Regions from separate parts of the Homo sapiens genome. Here region 2 is linked to region 1. Evidence: promoter capture Hi-C in 16 types of primary human blood cells and fetal thymus (Javierre and others, 2016). All regions are on one chromosome and are shown on one strand. The core of a region is centred on a gene start or on the middle of the fragment in contact, and the rest is flanking DNA. Distances in the headings are between cores, read along the strand shown.

Region 1 (6,423 bases), core at 645-3,144:
TTTCAACAACTCCTCTGGGGATAATGGCAGATGGAACTCATACATTTGGGGAGCCATTCTACTCCTACAGGCTCACAGGGCTAGAAACCAAACAGTGAAAAAGTCAGGGTCTATATTCAAGACCTGTCTTCGTATCTGGTTCTATTACTTTCCCATCCCCAACATATATAATGGCTTTTAGTTTTATAGCAAGCTAGTAACATCATCTGGTTTTGTTAGTTCCCCACCCCCAACATATATAATGGTTTTTAGTTTTATAGCAAGCTAGTAACATTATCTTACGGGATCTGAGATTGACCCTGGACTAGAAACTAATTCTAGTAGTGACTTTGGCACTTGGTCTTGACACTTAAACCTCTGGGCTTTATCTGTAAAAACAGGGTTACTAAACTCTGATTACTTCACAAAGTTGCTCTGATGATCAAACAAATCAAGCAGTACGAAGGTGTTTAAAGAACTATAAAGTGGCATATTAATGTGCAAAGTACTATTATTTCCATTTTTATGTGCAAAGCTCCTTAAGTATAGAGAGAATGGTCTGATCTCGTCTGAGGCCAAAACAGTGCCCCAGCATGGGCTAGTGGGCTTCCTGCACCAGAATGGTAAGAGCATTAACAATGATGATTTATTTATCCTGTGCCAAGTCTGTTAGGCTGTTTGCATGTATCATATCTGATCTAAGTATCCTAACCTCAATCCCATGAGGTGCATAATAATACAAATGAGTTTACAGAGCGGAAATTGAAGTAAGAAAGTTAAGCGATTTGCTTAACATCTTCCGTTGCGGATCTGTTAAGCGATTTGCTTAACATCTTCCGTTGCGGATCTGTTAAGCGATTTGCTTAACAACTTCCGTTGCGGATCTGTCAGACTTACAGTTTCTCACACATCGCGCCCCAGGGATATACTTACTAGGCCTATTGTATTTTGCCCAAGACTGGGTCACACTGCCATGTACTCGACTTTCCTACTCTTTTACGACCTGCAACACCACATCTTACCTGGGGATCTCACCCGCGGCTCTGATTCCGGCAGTCAGGCTGAAATGAAAAGGAAAAAACACGCGTGCACAACACGCACCAATTAGCAAGGCAGTTTTCAAGTCGGCGGAGAATCCGGCCAATCCCCGGCAGGCAGAGGCAAAGGGCCGCCTCTGAGTCTGGCAACGCGCGGGCAAAGCCACAAATACCGAGTTCAAATCTCAACGGCTGCAGGACGGCCAATCGCGACGCCCGCCGGAGCGGCCGGCCAATCACAGCGCCGCCCGGGGGCGGGCCAAGGCTCCGGCTCCGGCCCCCGCTCCCACCCCCGGCCCGCCTGCGAATCCCTCCTTGGCCGCAAGGTCCCCCTTTGCCCAGTCGGCGGGGAGGAGGCCGTATTTCTGCTGGCCAGAGACGTCGCGTCCCTGGCTGGGCATTCAGTCACCCCCAGGAAAGGAGGCAAGTCCACGCTGGGAGTTAGAAGGCATCGCCTCTAATCCAGGTTTCGCCATCTCCTCTGCTAAGTGACGTCCAGCAAGTCACTTCACTTTCAGGACCTCAAATCTCCTCCCCAGTAGTAAAATAGGGGTAATAAAAACAGCTACAGCGGAAGACTGTTGTGAGGCACAGAGAAAGGGCTTGGTCATTGGAAGCGGGTTCCAGGTTCTCAACCTTCATTTCCTTCACGGTTGAAGGACGCCAAAGAAAGCGGAAAGGGTGAATTTTCTTGAAATCTCAGTTTTGGGGAATCTTAGCGACGAGTCGCGGACCTCAGCTTGTCCGGCGCTCCAAAACTTCCGGCAGGCGGACCGGAAGCACTGAGGCGGGAAGGGTGGTAGAGGCCCCTCCTGCCGGAACCCGGGGGGCGGGGCTCGTGGCTGTTGCGGATGGGGCGTAGGTGGGCGGTGCGCCCACAGCTGCCTGGGTAAGGCCCAAGATGGCTGTCTTCGCCTTAGTACTCGTGTGAAGTTGGCGGGGACGGTTCCTGTCATCTTCTTGGGCTTATTTGGTGTGCTGTTGAAGGGGGGAGACTAGAGAAATGGCAGGGAACCTCTTATCCGGGGCAGGTAGGCGCCTGTGGGACTGGGTGCCTCTGGCGTGCAGAAGCTTCTCTCTTGGTAAGTGGCTGATGTAGGCACCCCGATAACTGCTTCGTAGTATAATAGGCGGCTCAGATTAATTCCCTCCCTTCCCCATCCCCAGGTGTGCCTAGATTGATCGGTATAAGGCTCACTCTCCCGCCCCCCAAAGTGGTTGATCGTTGGAACGAGAAAAGGGCCATGTTCGGAGTGTATGACAACATCGGGATCCTGGGTAAGACTTGACCTTCGACGTGGTACACAATTTCAGAATGGCAATTAGGCTGTAACGACTATCTTTTCCTCCTGTGTAGAGAGTGGTACTGTGCTCAATAGTAAGAGCAAACACTTATGTAGCTGTTTACATTGTGTTTGGCACTGTTCTGAGTCCCCTCGTATAATTTTTACTTCATAAGTAAAAATAAACAGTTTTTCCAAAGTTAATAAATGGCAGCATCAGAATTTTAACCCCAAGCAGTCTGGCTCCAGAGTCTGTGCTATTGTTCTGTACTGTAATGTTCCTTGTCTATAGGTGCTGCTCAGCAAGATGCAACCGTGGGTTGAAAGCTTAGCTGGTGTAGGATGAGTTCTCTTGTCTTGGATCTAATGTGTTCTCTCACATTACACAGGAAACTTTGAAAAGCACCCCAAAGAACTGATCAGGGGGCCCATATGGCTTCGAGGTTGGAAAGGGAATGAATTGCAACGTTGTATCCGAAAGAGGAAAATGGTTGGAAGTAGAATGTTCGCTGATGACCTGCACAACCTTAATAAACGCATCCGCTATCTCTACAAACACTTTAACCGACATGGGAAGTTTCGATAGAAGAGAAAGCTGAGAACTTCGGAAAAGGCTCATCTGTCACCCTGGAGAAGGGAAACTGTACTTTTCCCTGTGAGGAAACGGCTTTGTATTTTCTCTGTAATAAAATGGGGCTTCTTTGGAATTTGATAGCCACATACTTTTGTTTTCCTCTAGATGCTGCCTCTACTCATGTAGACTATGAAGTCTTGACTCATCCTAGATCTTAGGATCTTAGGTTTGGGCTTCACACCACTTGCCTTTTACAGTCTAGCTATACCTAATTCCTTTAAAAAGAAAAGTTGGTGAGAATGTTATTGGCGCTTTTTGACATAATGCTGTTATGTTAATAGTGTTTCTAAAGAGCCTTCCACACTGAAATGAAATATAAGAGAAAAATGGAGTCATACTTCTGTACTACTCTCATAAAATATTTATTAGGCATATTCTCTGAGTAGGAACTATAGGAAAAACAAAAAAGTGTGAGGTGTCCTTTCCATTTAAATATGAAACATTAAGTACCATATGAATGGTAGAGATGGCGGATACTAAGCCTGACTGGTCATCAGTTTTCTGGGTGTTTTAACATTTCAAAAGCCTAGTCCTAACCCCTAAAGATTGATCAGTAGAGCTGAGTTGAGTCTAGGGCATCTATGTGTTTTGTTCTTTTTTAATAATAATTTTTAAGAATTACAGCTGGGCAGAATGGTGCCCACATGTAATCCCAGCATTTTGGGAGGCTGAGGTGGGAGGATTGCTTGGAGACAGGAATTTGAGACTGGTCTGGGCGACATGGTGAAACTCCGTCTCTACTAAAAATAAAGTGGCTGGGTGCGGTGGCTCCTGCCTGTAATCCCAGCACCTTGGGAGGCGGAGGGGGGCGGACCACGAGCTCAGGAGATCGAGACTATCCTGGCTAACACAGCCCTGTCTCTACTGAAAATACAAAAACAAACAAACAAAAAAATTAGCCAGGAGTGGTGGCGGACACCTGTAGTCCCAGCTACTCAGGTGTCTGAGGCAGGAGAATCACTTGAACCTGGGAGGTGGAGCTTGCAGTGAGCCGAGATCGTGCCACTGCACTCCAGCCTGAGCAACAGAGCAAGACTCTGTCTCAAAAAAAAAAAAAAAACAACTTAGCTGGGCATGGTTCTGCATGCCTGTAGTTCCAGCTACTCATGGTTCTGCGTGCCTGCAGTCCCAGCTACACAAGAGGCTGAGGTGGGAAGATCACCTGAGCCCAGGAGTTTGAGGCTGCAGTGAGCTGAGATCATGCCACTGCATTCCAGCCTGAGCAACTGGGGTGAGACTGTCTCAAAAAAAAAAAAAAAAAAAAAGTGAAGTTAGGGCTGGGTGCAGTGGCTCACACCTGTAAGCCCAACACTTTGGGAGGCCAAGGCATGAGGATTGCTTGAAGCCAGGAGTTCAAGACCAGCCTGGGCAACATAGCAAGACCCCATCTCTATATTTTAAAAAACAAAAACTCCATAAAAGTGAAGTTAGATTAATAAATACTTGTTGCGGGGCATGGTGGTTGGAGCACACTTATAATCCCAGCTACTCTGCAGGCTGAGGTGGGAGGATCCTTTGAAACCAGGAGTTGGAGGCCAGCCTTAGGAACATAGCAAGACCCCATCTTCAATAAAAATAAAAAGCACTTGTTAAATTACAAGTGGGTTTTGGATAAATGGATTGATGGGTATATATGAAAACATGATCCTGGGTCTTACGGAAATGTTTAGGAGAGTCAGTTTTCAGAGGGGTGGCTGGAAGGAGCTATGCATAAGAATGGAGAAGTTGATGTGAAATGTGAGTGGCTGTATACTTTACATGATTTGGTGGTGCTAGAGTGGAGAAAATAAAATATTTGGGACTCTGCTAAGTGCAAGGTGCCCTGAAGAAGATATCTACATATCCTGGTAGAGTATCTGATTGTTAGGGAAGAGGAAATTAATAGGTCAATAGGCATTTATAGAATATTTCCTGATTCAAAGATACAAAAGGTTTTGTTTTCAAGGACAGAACAATCTTGTTTGTGGTATGAAACAGTATATAACGTTTTCTTTGAATAAATATTGAATTATTATGTGCAAAGATATTTGGAGGAACAAAAATCACCAAGGTAGGGTTGGTTCCTACCTCTAAGTAGTCTTCATTCTACTTAAAAGATGTCCGGTGGCTCACACCTGTAATCCCAGCACTTTGGAAGGCCTAGGTGGGCGGATCACGAGGTCAGGAGATCAAGACCATCCTGGCCAACATGGTGAAACCTCGTCTGTACTAAAAATACAAAAAAATTAGCCAGGTATAGTGGTGTGTGCCTGTAATCCCAGCTACTCGGGAGGCTGAGGCAGGAGAATCGCTTGAATCCGGGAGACAGAGAGGTTGCAGTGAGCTGAGATTGCACCATGCACTTCAGCCTGGGCAACAGAGGGAGACTCTGTCTTTAAAAAAAGAAAAAAAAAAAAAAAAAGACGTCTGAAGGATGTAAAGTTACAAGATGGTGGACCAATGTGATACTCTGCAGAATGTGCAAATGGTCCACATTTTTTAGATTACATCATGACAGAGAACAGAATTAACATAGCCCTGATGAAAGACCATGACTGTATACTGTTGTTCATCCCCTCCGTGGTGGACTGCTTCTGACCAACATGCTTTAGAAAAGAATGTTGGTTGGGCATGCTGGCTCAGGCCTGTAATCCCAGCACTTTGGGGGGCCAAGGTGGGCGGATCACCTGAGGTCAGGAGTTCGAGACCAGCCTGACCAACATGGAGAAACCCTGACTACTAAAAATACAAAATTAGCTGGGCCTGGTGGCACATGCCTGTAATCCCACCTACTCAGGAGGCTGAGGCAGGAGAATCGCTTGAACTCGGGAGGTGGAGGTTGCAGTGAGCCAAGATCGTGCCATTGTACTCCAGCCTGGGCACCAAGAGCGAAACTCTGTCTCAAAGGAAAAAAACAAAAAAGAAAAGGATGTTCGCCAGGTGCAGTGGCTCACACCTGTAATCCCAACACTTTGGGAGGTTGAGGCGAGAGGATCAGCTGAGCCCAGGAATTCGAGATCAGCCTGGGCAACATGGTGAAATGCTGTCTCCACAAAAAAAAAAAAAAAAAATTAGCCAGGCGTTGGTGGCATGTGCCTGTAGTCCCAGCTGCTGTGGAGGCTGGGTGGAAGGATTGCTTGAGCCTTGGGGGTCGAGGCTGCAGTGAGCTGAGCTTGTGACACTGCACTTCAGCCTAGGCAACAAAGCAAGACCCTGTCTCAAAAGAAAAAGAAAAAGAAAAAAGAAAAACAATGTATTTGCTAAATCAGTGGTCACAAACCACAAATGTGAGGCTATGTTAATCTGCTCCAATAAAGATATCCCATCCAGCAGACAATTAGCACTGGGATTCCCACTTGGTTAAATTGGCAGCAGCTTCATCCAGTTTATACAGGGGTAAGACTGGAAAAAAGAAAAAAAGAAGAGATGTGTATGTAAACAAAATGTAAATTTAAATATGATAATGAAAGCGAGTCCCATGACAGGTTTTTTTTTTCTTTTTTTTTTTTGC
Region 2 (7,201 bases), core at 3,845-6,344, 530 kb before region 1:
AGAAACATACTCATGTGCAATTGAGCTTCATGCTTCTCCACGGGCCCCATGTTCAAAAAATGGTGGCATTAAGATGATCTAAGGTAGAGTTTTTGGCCCTCTGGCATCAAAAGGTGAAGCAGAGAACATGAAAACCCTCACTGCATTCTCTGTAGACTGGTCAGAACCACTTCATATTCAAGAGTCTCTTATCAGGCATAAAAGGAGGAGCAATATCAGACAGTTGGTTGATATCACTGGTAGAGTCTTTTGAAAGGGCTAGTTTCTGTTTAGCCCTTAGGTTAGAAAGCCTAAACCGGTTAGGGAGGGAGGGGTGAGCATAAGGAGGCGTGCCTGACCTCATCCCATCATGACCAAGAACTCAGTTTTCAAGGTTACTCTGGGGTCTGCTTTGCCAGGAGAGGGTCCATTAGGTCAGTTAGTGGGGGCTTCGAATTTTACTTTTAGTTTACAAGGGTATAGCCTAGTACTCCTTGGCTAAAAACTTGCACAGCATGTTATTATAATGAATATTGTGAGCAATAATAATACAATTGTAATAACTATTTGTGTGTATCTAAACACATCTAAACATAGAAAAGGTACAGTACAAATATGGTATAAAAGATTAAAAAGGCTGGGCACGGTGGCTCATGCCTATAATCCCAGCACTTTGGGAGACCAAGGCAGGTGGATCACCTGAGGTCGGGAGTTCAAGACAAGCCTGAACAACATGGAGAAACCGTCTCTACTAAAAATACAAAATTAGCCAGGCGTGGTGGCACAGGCCTGTAATCCCAGCTACTTGGGAGGCTGAGGCAGGAGAATCACTTGAACCCGGGAGGTGGAGGTTGCAGTGAGCTGAGATCGTGCCATTGCACTCCAGCCTGGGCAACAAGAGCAAAACTCCATCTCAATAAAAATTTAAAAAAATTTAAAAATTTAAAAATGGTACAGCCGTATAGGCCATTTACCTGAATGGAGCTTGCAGGACTCGCAGTTGTTCTGGGTTAGTCAGTGAGTGTGAAGAGTGTGAGAGTGAATGTGAAGGCCTAGGACACTGCCATACACTACCATATGTAATTGCCCTGTGGGCTTCTTCCTGCCCGCTGCACAGACAAAATCAATTCACTGAGACCATGGCATTGCATTAGAGAAAGATCTTAATTGATGCAAGGCTGACCATGCCACATGGTACATGAAGCTATTACTCAAATCAATCTCCCTGAAAATTTGGAGGCTAGGATTTTTCAAAGACAGTTTGGTGGGCAGGGGCCTACGGTATAAGTGCTGCTGCTTTGTTGGGGATGCAATCATAGAGGTATGGCAAATGATCCTCATGCCCTGACTCCACCTCTGGGTGGGGTCCATAGGACTGGCTGAGTCACGAGTCCAGCTGGGGTTTGCAGAAATGCCAAAATCTGAAAAGACATCCTAAAAGGTCAATCTTAAGTTCTACAATATGATGTTATCTAGAGGCGTAATTGGGGAAGTTACAAATCTGGTGACCTCCTGAACAACGGTTGGTAATCACTTAATTATGCCTACATTTTAGCGGAATTCAGGGCCCTTTCATAAGCCTAACCTTGCAGCCTTTCATTAGTTTTATAAAGGTGGCTTAGTTTGGGAAAGGGCTATTATCCCTGCTTTAAGTTTAACTATAAACTAAATTTCTCTCAAAGTCAGTTTGGTTTATGCCCAGGAATGACCAAAGATAGCTTGGAGGTTAAAAGCATGAGGGAGGCTGGGCACAGTGGCTCACACCTGTTAATCCCAGCACTTGGGGAGGCTGAGGCGGGCAGATCACTTGAGGTCAGGAGTTCAAGACCAGCCTGACCAACATGGCTAAACCCCATCTCTACTAAAAATACAAAAATTAGCTGGGCATGGTGGTGCATGCCTGTAATCCCAGCTTCTTGGGAGGCTGAGGCACAAGAATTGCTTGAACCTGGGAGGCAGAGGTTGCAGTGAGCTAAGACCACGTGCTTGCACTCCAGCTTGGGTGACAGAGAAAGACTCTCAAAAAAAGCAAGATGAAGTCAACTATATCAGATTTCTCTTACTGTCATAATTTTGTAAAGGCAGTTTAATTGGACTGTATAAACACTATATGCTTAGGCTTCACTGAAGTTATAAATATATATATATAATTTTCTTTTTTTTTTTTCGAGACGGAGTCTTGCTCTGTCACACAGGCTAGAGTACAATGGCGCGATCTCAGCTCACTGCAACCTCTGCCTCCTGGGTTTAGGCAATTCTCCTGCCTCAGCCTTCCAAGTAGCTGGGATTACAGGCACCCACCACCATGCTCGGCTAATTTTTGTATTTTTAGTAGAGTCAGGGTTTCACCACGTTGGCCAGGCTGGTTTCGAACTCCTGACCTCAGGTGATCCGCCCGCCTCAGCCTCTCAAAATACTGGGATTACAGGGGTAAGCCACCATGCCCAGCTTTTTTTTTTTTTTTTTCTGAGACGGAGTTTTGTTCTTGTTGCCCAGGCTGGAGTGCAATGGCATGGTCTCGGCTCGCCGCAACCTCCATGTCAGGCCTCTGAGCCCAAGCCAAGCCATCGCATCCCCTGTGACTTGCACATATACAACCAGATGGCCTGAAGTAACTGAAGATCCACAAAAGAAGTAAAAATAGCCTTAACTGATGACATTCCACCATTGTGATTTGTTCCTGCCCTACCCTAACTGATCAATGTACTTTGTAATCTCCCCCACCCTTAAGAAGGTACTTTGTAATCCCCCCACCCTTAAGAAGGTTCTTTGTAATTCTCCCCACCCTTGAGAATGTACTTTGTGAGATCCACCCCTGCCCACAAAACATTGCTCTTAACTTCACCGCCTATCCCAAAACCTATAAGAACTAATGATAATCCACCACCCTTTGCTGACTCTCTTTTCGGACTCAGCCCGCCTGCACCCAGGGAAATAAACAGCCTTGTTGCTCACACAGAGCCTGTCTGGTGGTCTCTTCACACGGACGCACATGAAACTCCATCTCCCGGGTTCAAGTGATTCTCGTGCCTCAGCCTCCCAAGTAGCTGGGATTACAGGAGCCGGCCATCACGCCTGGCTAATTTTTTTGTATTTTTAGTAGAGACAGGGTTCCACCATGTTGGCCAGGCTGGTCTCTAACTCATGACCTCAGGTGATCCACCCGTCTCAGCCTCCCAAATTGCTGGGATTACAGGCCTATATATATAATTTTTGTTTTTTTTTGCAAGACAGAGTCTCGCTCTGTCTTTCAGGTTGGAGCGCAGTGTCATGATCACGACTCACTACAGCCTCAACCTCCCAGGCTCAAGTGATCCTCCCACCTTAGCTTCCTGAGTAGCTGGGACTACAGGCATGTTCCACCATGCTCATCTAAATTTTATTTTATTTTTTTTGTAGAGACAGGGTCTATGTTGCCCAGGCTGGTCTCCAACTCCTGGGCTCAAGCAATCTTCCCACCTCAACCTCCCTAAGTACTAGGATTACAGGCATGAACCACTGTGCCCGGCCAATATAAGGCATGCAAAACTATACTAATTTTCCTTTCTGGATATATGCTGTATGTAAAGTATTAAAATAGGCATGGGATTGATAAATACCAAAGTCAGCAAAGTGGTGACCTCTGAGAAAGGAAGGAGGGAAATGCCCTCAGGAAGGGATATACCGGCTTTTCAAATGTATAGGTGATGTTTGTTTCTTAACCTGGAGAAGTTATATTATCCTCTACTTTTCCGTGTGAATGAAATATTTTGTTTTTTAAAATCTTGCCCAAAATGGGAGTAGGGGTAGGGAATTTGACAGACCTAGGTTTAAATTCTGTCTGCCGCTTACTTGTAAAGGAACTTACCCAGTTTCTTAATTTCTCCAAGCCTCTGTGTCTGTAAGAGGACATCATCATAATAAATATTCTATTGCGCAGCCAAAGCAAGTGAAATAATACGGATGAAAGTGCTTTATAAAGTGCAAGTGCTACAGAAGTATAAGCTGTAATTTTACAAGAATGCGCCACAAATTATTGTAACTAAGAGTTATTGCAAGAAACTCTTAGCATTCCTTTGTTACATACTCTCACAGAACCTTGACCCTTTCCTTCAGAGCACTTACCTTCTCTTGCAATAACACGTTAATTGATGCTATTATTTGTGCATCCTCCCACTCCGTGGCTCTGGGCTCCTGATTCTATTCCCAAGCCCAGCACAGTCCCTGGCATATGGTAAGTGCTCGACAGATTTTTTTTTTTTTTTTTTTGGCGTAATCTTAACAGGATTACCTGTAGGAAGTGAGAATGAAAAGCAGGGAGGGGAAACAGGACTCTTCTGTTTTACATTTCTATACTGTTATAACTTTTATCATAAACATGTATTACTCAGTGCAAAATTATTTGAATTTTTAATTAAAATAATAAGTGTTAAATAGGCATATCTTAATTTCATCGCCTCTAGGGGGAAGGTCATGTTTTACTACAGGAAACTGCATGGAAAAGGGATCCATGAAATAAAAGGAGCAGACAATGTCTGTTCCTGGGGCACTGGGCTTTCCGCTGAACCTCCGGGAGTGAAGGCGACGAGTCTAACAACCTAAGAATTTAAGAACGGGCCGGGAGGCGCCGTTAGGGGGCGCGCGAAAGGCGGCGCGGGCGTTCCCGCCTCCCCGTTACATGCCCCAGTAACCCCAGCGCCGGCGACCGGGAGTAACCTCGCGCGCGGGCGGCCCCCCCGCGTCCAGACTCTCGCCTGCTCCCGCCTCAGCCAATGGGAAGGCAGCGAACCGGCCGGCCGGACGGTCGCCCCGGAGGGCTCCTCCTGGGAGCATTTCGAACGGAGTTGAACTGTCGCCGGGCCACGGGCTCAGACCTTTCCAATGGCAGCTCTGGGTCCCGACGCCAAGCCCCGCCCAGCCCTGAGCCTCCCCGTGTGCATTCTCGGCAGGAGTCACCTTTGCCTTACAAACCTTCAGACCCGCCCTCTTCCTACCTTGCCGCGCTAGGCCCCGCCCTCTGCGCAGGTCGGCCAATAACGGGGTGAGCTGGCGCCGCGGGGCGGGCCTCCAGCCAATGCGCACGCCGTGGGCGGGCCCCGAGCCGGAATTGGGGGTGAAGCGATAGCGTTTTGCCCGCATTCGGGGCGCGCGGAGCTGGGGGGTCCCTGTGGGGCTCCCGGAGTTAAGATGGCGTCCTCAGCGGAGGGGGACGAGGGGACTGTGGTGGCGCTGGCGGGGGTTCTGCAGTCGGGTTTCCAGGAGCTGAGCCTTAACAAGTTGGCGACGTCCCTGGGCGCGTCAGAACAGGCGCTGCGGCTGATCATCTCCATCTTCCTGGGTAAGGACCCTCCTGCCTCCCTCCGCCCCTCGCGGAGTCCCCGGGGAGTAGGGGAGGAATGGGGACAGGACCTCCCTCTCTTCCCGGAGCCACCCGGGAGGGCTGTGCCGGGTGCGGGTGTGAATCCTGAAGCACACCAACAGCTACTGAGGGAAGACAGAAGTCCTGTCTCGAGTCTGGGGCGCTGTGCCCTCTGAACCTCTTCATCTTTCTCTTCAACCCCTGCCATGCCCTCTGGCCTCTCAGTCGGGCCCCCGCCCTCTTGTGCCAGGCTCTACCCTTGCTCCCACGACCTGTCTTTATTTGTCGCTCTGTTGAGTTCCACTGTCTGGCCATGTGTCCTGCTCTGTCATTAATAACCACCCCGCACACGCGCGCATCTCATCGGTAGGCATAGGGCCCCTAACTTTAGCCCTTTCGGCCTTTTCAGCCCCATATTCCATATTTCATATTCTGAGCGCCTGTTTTGCTTATTGCCAGCTTATATTATACTTTCGTCTCTTTTCTGTCCCAGTCCTACTATTTTCTTTTTATACCATGTTGCTTTTTTTATTTTCCAAGCCACCTACCTGTCATTTACCCTGGAATATCATTTTAATGCTGGACTTGGGAAACAGGACTAACAACCTCCTTAAAATCGATCCATACTATTCCAAGCGTTTATTACACGTGTGGTTCAAAGGATGTGGTGTATCTGAATTTATGCCACAACAAGCTGTATTACAACTGGTTTATAGGCTTTTTTACCGCATCCTCACTCCATGGTTTAATACATGGAGGTAGCATAGTACAATGGAAAAAAGTATGGGTTTTGAAGGCAAACAAATCAGATCCAGCCTTGTTGCTGCTCACAAACTGAAGGACCCTACGCAGGCCGCAAAACCCTCTGGGCCTAATTTCCTTATCTATGAAATGAGGACAACAGTGCCTACCACATAGGATTGCCATAAAGTCCTGTAGAAGGGCCAAGATTGGGAAGTACCTGTACATATATATACATAAAATTTAAGCAGTTGGAACGTTTTATGAAGGTTATAGAACTTTAGGAGCGGGTGAGTGGGAAGGATTAAGCAAAAGCTGTAAGTGGTGATAAGGAAACAGGACTGGGGCTAGAGCAGAGGGTTAGAGGTCTGAACCATGAGAAGTTTGAGATAAAGTTGGGCAGGTGTGGAAAGCCTTAAATGCCAGAGAGAAGTTTGGCGTTTATCCAGTATTCAGTAGAAACACTGATATATAATATCACCAGAGGGTGTTAACCCAATCTAGATAATGGGATAGGCATTAATTCATATTTAAACAACCTTGCCTAATAGCATTGTTACTTTCCTATTACATATCAAACCAAGATCTTCCTTTCTTCCAAATAAAGATCACCTTTTTCTTCCTCTGTGGAATCGTAAGATTTTAAAGATGGAATGGAACTGGGGTTGTGCAGTTTGCTCAGTGTCACCCAGACATCATCCAAATTTATCAGCACCCTAGTCTAGGCTTATTTGCACTACACCAGCTTTGAACTTCCTACTCTTTCATCCTTGTTTCTGACCCAGTTATTTTTGACATTGTAATTAGCAATTAGTGTTTACATTTGACAGGACGCAGCGGCTTATGCTTATAATCGTAACACTTTGGGAGGCCAAGGTGGGAGGAACGCTTGAGGCCAGCCTGGGCAACATTTTATTTGTCTCTACAAAAAATTAGGCCAGGCGCAGGGGCACATGCCTGTAATCCTGGCATTTTGGGAGGCCAAGGTGGGCAGATCGCTTGAGGTCAGGAGTTTGAGACCAGCCTGGCCAACATGGTGAAACCCCATCTCTCCTAAAAGTATAAAAATTAGCTGGGCATGGTGGTGGGCACCTGTAATCCCAGCTACTTGGGAGGCTGAGGCAGGAGAATCACTTGAACCCT

What was found. Contacts are between HindIII fragments. The CHiCAGO score rates a contact against its expected background, and 5 or more counts as called.
Region 2: a contact is called between the fragment with the promoter of LPCAT3 here and the fragment with the promoter of MRPL51 in region 1, in 1 of 17 cell types (non-activated CD4 T cells). The highest score is 6.9, in non-activated CD4 T cells.

The regions. Positions count from the first base shown.
Region 1 is chr12:6,488,733-6,495,155 of GRCh38, reverse strand. MRPL51 (mitochondrial ribosomal protein L51) reads left to right here and starts at 1,894. Exons shown (of 3, transcript NM_016497.4): 1 at 1,894-2,098; 2 at 2,184-2,294; 3 at 2,689-3,270. The coding sequence starts at 2,020. The coding sequence ends at 2,885. It overlaps NCAPD2 (non-SMC condensin I complex subunit D2), which reads right to left and starts at 1,054. Exons shown (of 32, transcript NM_014865.4): 1 at 1,002-1,054; 2 at 1-80. The coding sequence starts at 57. RefSeq lists a silencer at 1,097-1,426 and enhancers at 862-1,459, 1,627-1,676. The HindIII fragment of the contact is 4,003 bases long and covers 1-2,089 here.
Region 2 is chr12:7,016,369-7,023,569 of GRCh38, reverse strand. LPCAT3 (lysophosphatidylcholine acyltransferase 3) reads left to right here and starts at 5,094. Exons shown (of 13, transcript NM_005768.6): 1 at 5,094-5,296. The coding sequence starts at 5,146. RefSeq lists a silencer at 4,484-4,743. The HindIII fragment of the contact is 11,114 bases long and covers 1-7,201 here.